Linked DNA regions of Homo sapiens: region 1 is linked to region 2. The links are contacts of gene promoters, found by promoter capture Hi-C in blood cells and fetal thymus (Javierre and others, 2016). All regions are on one chromosome and are shown on one strand. The core of a region is centred on a gene start or on the middle of the fragment in contact, and the rest is flanking DNA. Distances in the headings are between cores, read along the strand shown. Region 1 has its middle 21 kb from the start of C22orf42. Region 2 holds the start of RFPL3S (RFPL3 antisense).

What was found. The method cuts DNA at HindIII sites, captures the fragments that hold promoters and counts their contacts. A CHiCAGO score of 5 or more calls a contact.
Region 1: a fragment that was not itself captured here is called in contact with the fragment with the promoter of RFPL3S in region 2 in 1 of 17 cell types (endothelial precursors); the score reaches 5.2 in endothelial precursors.

Annotation. Positions count from the first base shown.
Region 1 is chr22:32,136,889-32,139,636 of GRCh38, reverse strand. No RefSeq gene overlaps it. Among named protein-coding and RNA genes, the nearest start is that of C22orf42, 21 kb to the left of the region's middle. The HindIII fragment of the contact is 8,725 bases long and covers 1-2,748 here.
Region 2 is chr22:32,369,754-32,372,553 of GRCh38, reverse strand. It overlaps RFPL3S (RFPL3 antisense), which reads left to right and starts at 1,290. Exons shown (of 5, transcript NR_104232.1): 1 at 1,290-1,356; 2 at 1,613-1,655. The HindIII fragment of the contact is 20,480 bases long and covers 1-2,800 here.

The sequences.
Region 1 (2,748 bases), core at 201-2,700, 230 kb after region 2:
TTTTTTAACCTTTTATAATTTTTGTCAAAGAGCAGGTTAGCGCTTTAAGAAAAATCTGTTGTGTTTTTATTTTAATGTCCAGTTCACAGAAAAACTGGATGATACCCCTTTAACTTTAGCCAATATGTTTACACACAGAATTTTCTTTACAATTAATGTTTCAAAACTTGCTTAAACCTTCAAAACAATTTTTGTAACCTTTTAATGTAGGTAAAAATCCACATTCTTATGCTTCCTTATAATCCTTTTACCAAAGGCATATTTTACTTTCCTTATATACCTTGCACATAAACTGTTTCTTCAACAGTTTTACATTCAGGAGGATAATTAATTTAAATTATACAACATTTCTTGCATAAATTTCTTTTTCTAACACTTTTTTTCATGATTTTCACAGACAATTCTTCGACATGTCTCAACTTTCTGACTTATTGGAAACATCCCTTTCCTTAAACAACTAGTTAATTTATTTCAGGACAAGAATTTTCCATATAACATTCCTTTTTATATAAATTCTGCACCCCCACTTTTTTTCTTTTTTCTTTTTTTCGAAGATGATAACCATTCTTTTCCAAAGCAAACTTCCTTCAGGTCTGTGGACTAGACTGTCTAAGGCCACAGATTAGAAGTTACTATCATACACGTTACACTGTTAACTTTTAGCAAAACAACTTTACTTTTGTTGAAAACCTTGTAAGTGTGGGATTTCAATTATCCTTTGCTATTAATAAGACTTTGTTTAGTCCAGATTAACTTAGAATTGGTATAGATGGCTTTTTTTTTTCCTGGTTCTGTAAGTACTTCAAGGCTTGGCTGGGTGGCAAAGTTGAGCAGACCAATTATTAGGCAATTTTCCTAACTCTACTTCTACAAGAGTTTTCCTCAATTACAAAATACCCATTGTGGTTTTTCTCCTTAATCACCTGGGAGGAACTATCTATCATCCTGTCCTGAAGGTAGTTCCTCCTAGGTCTGGTCGGATCTTTGTATGGTAATTAAGATTTAAATTCCCTGTTAGGAAATCTTCTGGGTTAAGGGAATTTTCAGGGGTTTATGTTAAATCATCTTTTTCTAACGGAGTAGCCCCATACTTTAAGATTTTTGAGTTATTAAGCTACCTTTTTGCTTTTTTTTTTTTAACTTAGGATACTTCTGAACTGGTGAGGTGTGCTCACAATGAGGTTTCCTCTAAAAGTTATTTTTCTACTTTCTTCTGTCAGCAAAGCAGTTGCCGCTACAGACTGAATGCATTCGGGCCACCCGTGGGTTAATGGGTTCAAGGAATTCACACCAAATCAGAATCAAAACCAAAACCAAAGTGCAGATAAAGGACACGCCCGTTCGTCAAGCAATTTAAACCAAGTCAAAACCAAAACCAAAACCAAAACCAAAGTGCTGATAAAGGCACGCTGTGGGTGATCAGGCCATGCTTCCACTCAAATGGAGTGGACAAGTTCCCAAGACAGGTCCTGTCAAGCAATTCAAGTCAAAATCGAAACCAAAACCAAAGTGCCGATAAAGGCACGCCCATTTGTCAAGTAATTCAAACCAAGTCAAAATCAAAACCAAAACCAAAGTGCCGACAAAGGCACGCCCGTTTGCCAAGGAATTCAAACCAAGTCAAAATCAAAACCAAAACCAAAGTGCCGATAAAGGCACTCTGTGGGTGATCAGGCCATGCTTCCACTCAAATGGAGTGGGCAAGTTCCCAAGACCAGTCCTACCATGTTCCAGATATACGGACTCCAAGCGCCAGTTCCCTCCCGGTGCTCAGCCACTGCATTGATCCTCTGCTGGGGCCTGCCATGCACTGCTCTGACAAGGCATTCCACCGGGGCAAATGCCTACCCAGGAGCATGCTCAGGATCCACGTAGCTCAAGCTGGCCAGAGTCCCCTGCAGGGATGCTCCACAGGGCAAGCCTAAGCCACCTAAGGGGCTGCTTCACTTCCCGGTCAGGGAACCAAGAAATGTAGCAGGATGAGCCACAGACAAAACTCCTCAGACACCGGGTTAAAGAAGGAAGAGGCTTTATTAGGCCGGGAGGTCAGCAGACTTGCGTCATAAGAACAGAACCGAGCTCCCCAAAGAAAGAGTTCCTGGCCCTTTTAAGGGCTTACAACTCTAAGGGGTCCACGTGACAGGGTCGTGATAGACTGAGCAAGCATGGGGTACATGACTAGGTGGGGGTAAGCAAGGCAAGTATTTCTCCACACCATTGTCTGTGATCTATAGATAGCACAAGCGATTAGGGTGGGGGTTAATCTTCAGCCTACAGGCTAAAGCAACACCAGAGAGGATGGAAGTGAGACCCCTGGAGTTGTGGTTGTGGTCAGATTGGACCTTCCCGTGGCTGCTGAGACTCTGGGGCATTGGGGATACCTGAGGATGCCTCCCTGCTCTTACTTTGTGGTCACCAAGAGATCAGGGTTACCACAACCCTATAACGTAGAGAATCCCTGTCCCCTTCCATGCCACTTCACTCCTTAGGGAAGCAAACGCCCTCCCAGGAGCTCATTCCCATTCCTGGGCCACAATCAAAGGGAAAACCTGATCCAGACATGAATTTCCTTGGGCCTCTGCATTTCCAGACATCCTGTCATTGTATGCATGGGGCTGACTGTCTCATCTCAGCTTCAGAAGCGCAGGCAGAGTTGTGGACACCCTGCTGAGCAAATGCCCACCGGAGTCAGGGGTTCAGCTTTCCTGCACCACAGCTGCAGGTGGGGGCTGGGGAGGGGGGCATAGG
Region 2 (2,800 bases), core at 41-2,540:
AAAGTATTTGCAATTGGGTGTTATGTATCAGCCAGAATACACACGTAGTTATACATTTTGAAAGTTATCTAAAATTCTGCATTCAGAAACACTTTAATTATATGTATTAGGCTGGGCATGGTGGTTCACGCCTCTAATCCCAATACTTTGGGAGGTCGAGGTGGGTGGATTGCTTGAATCCAAGAGTTGAAGACCAGCCTGGGCACCATGGAAAAACCCCATCTCTACAAAATATTAGCTGAGCATGGCGGCAAGAACCTGTAGTCCCAGCTACATGGGAGGCTGAGTTGGGAGGATCACCTGAGCCTGGGAGGTCAAGGCTGCAGTGAGCCATGATCAAGCCACTGCACTCCAGCCTGAGTGACAGAGTGAGACCCTGTCTCAAATAAAAAATTATATGTATTCACCCAAAGTGTTCACCCCACCGAGAAGATGCACTGGTGAAAATATAGTGATTTTTTTTTCCTTTAAATACTCAGTGAATGGCCAGCCGTTTACATACACAATGGTAGACAAATTCCTCTGTGAATTCACAAAGTTTGGGAGATAAATAAGTGCATAGTAATATATAGAGATAAGTGGAAAAATAAGTTTCATAATTATATTGTGAGAGAAATATGATTTTTATAATATCAAGTAACACTTTTTTCTAATTCTGAACAGTTTATTGCTTCTAGAAACATTAGATCACTCAGGAATGGTAGAAATATGACTTTTTAGGGAAATATGACTTTTAAAATGTGACTTTAAAAAATGTCACTTTTTAAGAAACATGACTTTTATAACAATATCCATTTATGCTGTCTTTAATTCTGAACAGTTTGCTTATTGGTTCTAGAAATATTAGATGACTCAGGAATGGTAGAAATATTTGGCAATGGAATTTCGAATCGAGAATGGAACTTCTGGTTGTTACTAACATATCGGTTTTGCCCCTGCTCAGTTTGAAATTCTTGCCATTGAGTGTATTTTGGGGTACACAATTTCTCCTCCTAAAACTTATTTTAATAAGCACAGAATAGTAATTAATGAGCTTGGGTTTTGTTGTTTTTTTTTTAAGTAAAACGCCTAATCTTTTATTTTATTTTATTTTATTTTATTTTTTTACGGAGTCTCGCTCTGTCGCCCAGGCTGGAGTGCAGTGGCGCTATGTCGGCTCACTGCAAGCTCCGCCTCCCGGGTTCACGCCATTCTCCTGCGTCAGCCTCCCGAGTAGCTGGGGGCTCCCGCCACCACGCCCGGCTAATTTTTTGTGTTTTTAGTACAGACGGGGTTTCACCATGTTAGCCAGGATGGTCTCTATCTCCTGACCTCGTGATCCACCCACCTCGGCCTCCCAAAGTGCTGGGATTACAGGTGTGAGCCACCACTCCCTGCCGTAAAAGGCCTAATCTTTAATGACCCTCCTGTGCGTGTGAAAGCACTCTTGTTGGTGCAGCAGAAAGCGGACCTCACAATACACATTGTGACTTTACCCTGAGACGTTGATGATGCTCCTATCACCATGGTTATGTGATTGGGTATATCTTGCCCTCGGTCCTAACTGCCACTGTCTGTGCTGAGTTTTTCAAAGTTCATAGCAGGTTGAACATGCTTGCTGTCATTTTCACAGATTCTGGTCTTTCTTATGGGGAACCTGAGTTCCTGCATTAAAGGTATGTTCACATTGGCCTGTTGAATGCTGTCCTCTCAAATGTACTAGTTAATATTTAAAAATATATTTTATTAAAAAATTCTCCTCTGTATTTTTCATATGCAGTTATAAATGTGTTTCCCGGTTATGTTTTATTCCTCAATTTATATATTTGATTCTAGTATCAAGCAGGATGCCTTTGAGCTTTTCCTTTATTTAAAAGACATGTCTTATTTCCTGTTACATCTGGCACCCCTCAAACCACCCAATTAGGTATCCTTCTGGGAAAAATATGGCAAAGTATGTTTTAATGCAGTTTTTACCTAATTAAGAACCTATTAAAATCATTAATTTTAAAAATTAGGAGCAAAGCTAGAATGATGCAGATGTCTTTGAGGCTTTTAACACAACGAAGTGTGTCCATCTTTGTCTTTTGTTGTTGTTTTTTTGTTTGTTTGTTTGTTTTTGAGATGGAGTCTCACTCTGTCGCCCAGGCTGGAGTGCAACGGTGCGATCTCGGCTCACTACAACCTCCGCCTCCCGGGTTCAAATGATTCTCTCGCCTCAGCCTCCCGAATAGCTGGGATTTCAGGCACCCACCATCATGCCCGGCTAATTTTTGTATTTTTGTAGAGACAAGGTTTTACCATGTTGGCCAGGCTGGTCTTGAACTCCTGACCTCAGGTGATCCACCTGCCTCGGCCTCCCAAAGTGGTGGTGTTACAGGCGTGAGCCACCACACCAGGCCCTGGCCTGTTTTTAGTATGTCTTTCCTCTCTCCTTTTTCATGAAATGTGTATTCAGTTTAGTAAATTTGGAATATGTCATTTATATTCACATATTAACTTTTTGAAAAGAAGTAAGAATGTGTATTGTCTATGTGTCAGTGTGTGAAACAAAACACACTTATTTTTATGATTGGGGTTTATCCAAAATGATAGAGATAACAATTATAGTCAATCACCCAAACCACTTACCTTTCCAAAGGTAAATATAATCAAGTGTAATCATTTTTTCTCATCCAGAGAGTAGTTCATATTTCAACATACAAAGATAGAGAAGTGAAATGAATCGGTAAACACTATTAACCAAGAACATACAGATTTACTCACACCAGGAAACACGTAGGTCACATACATATATGTAAAGATACATTTAAAAATAATA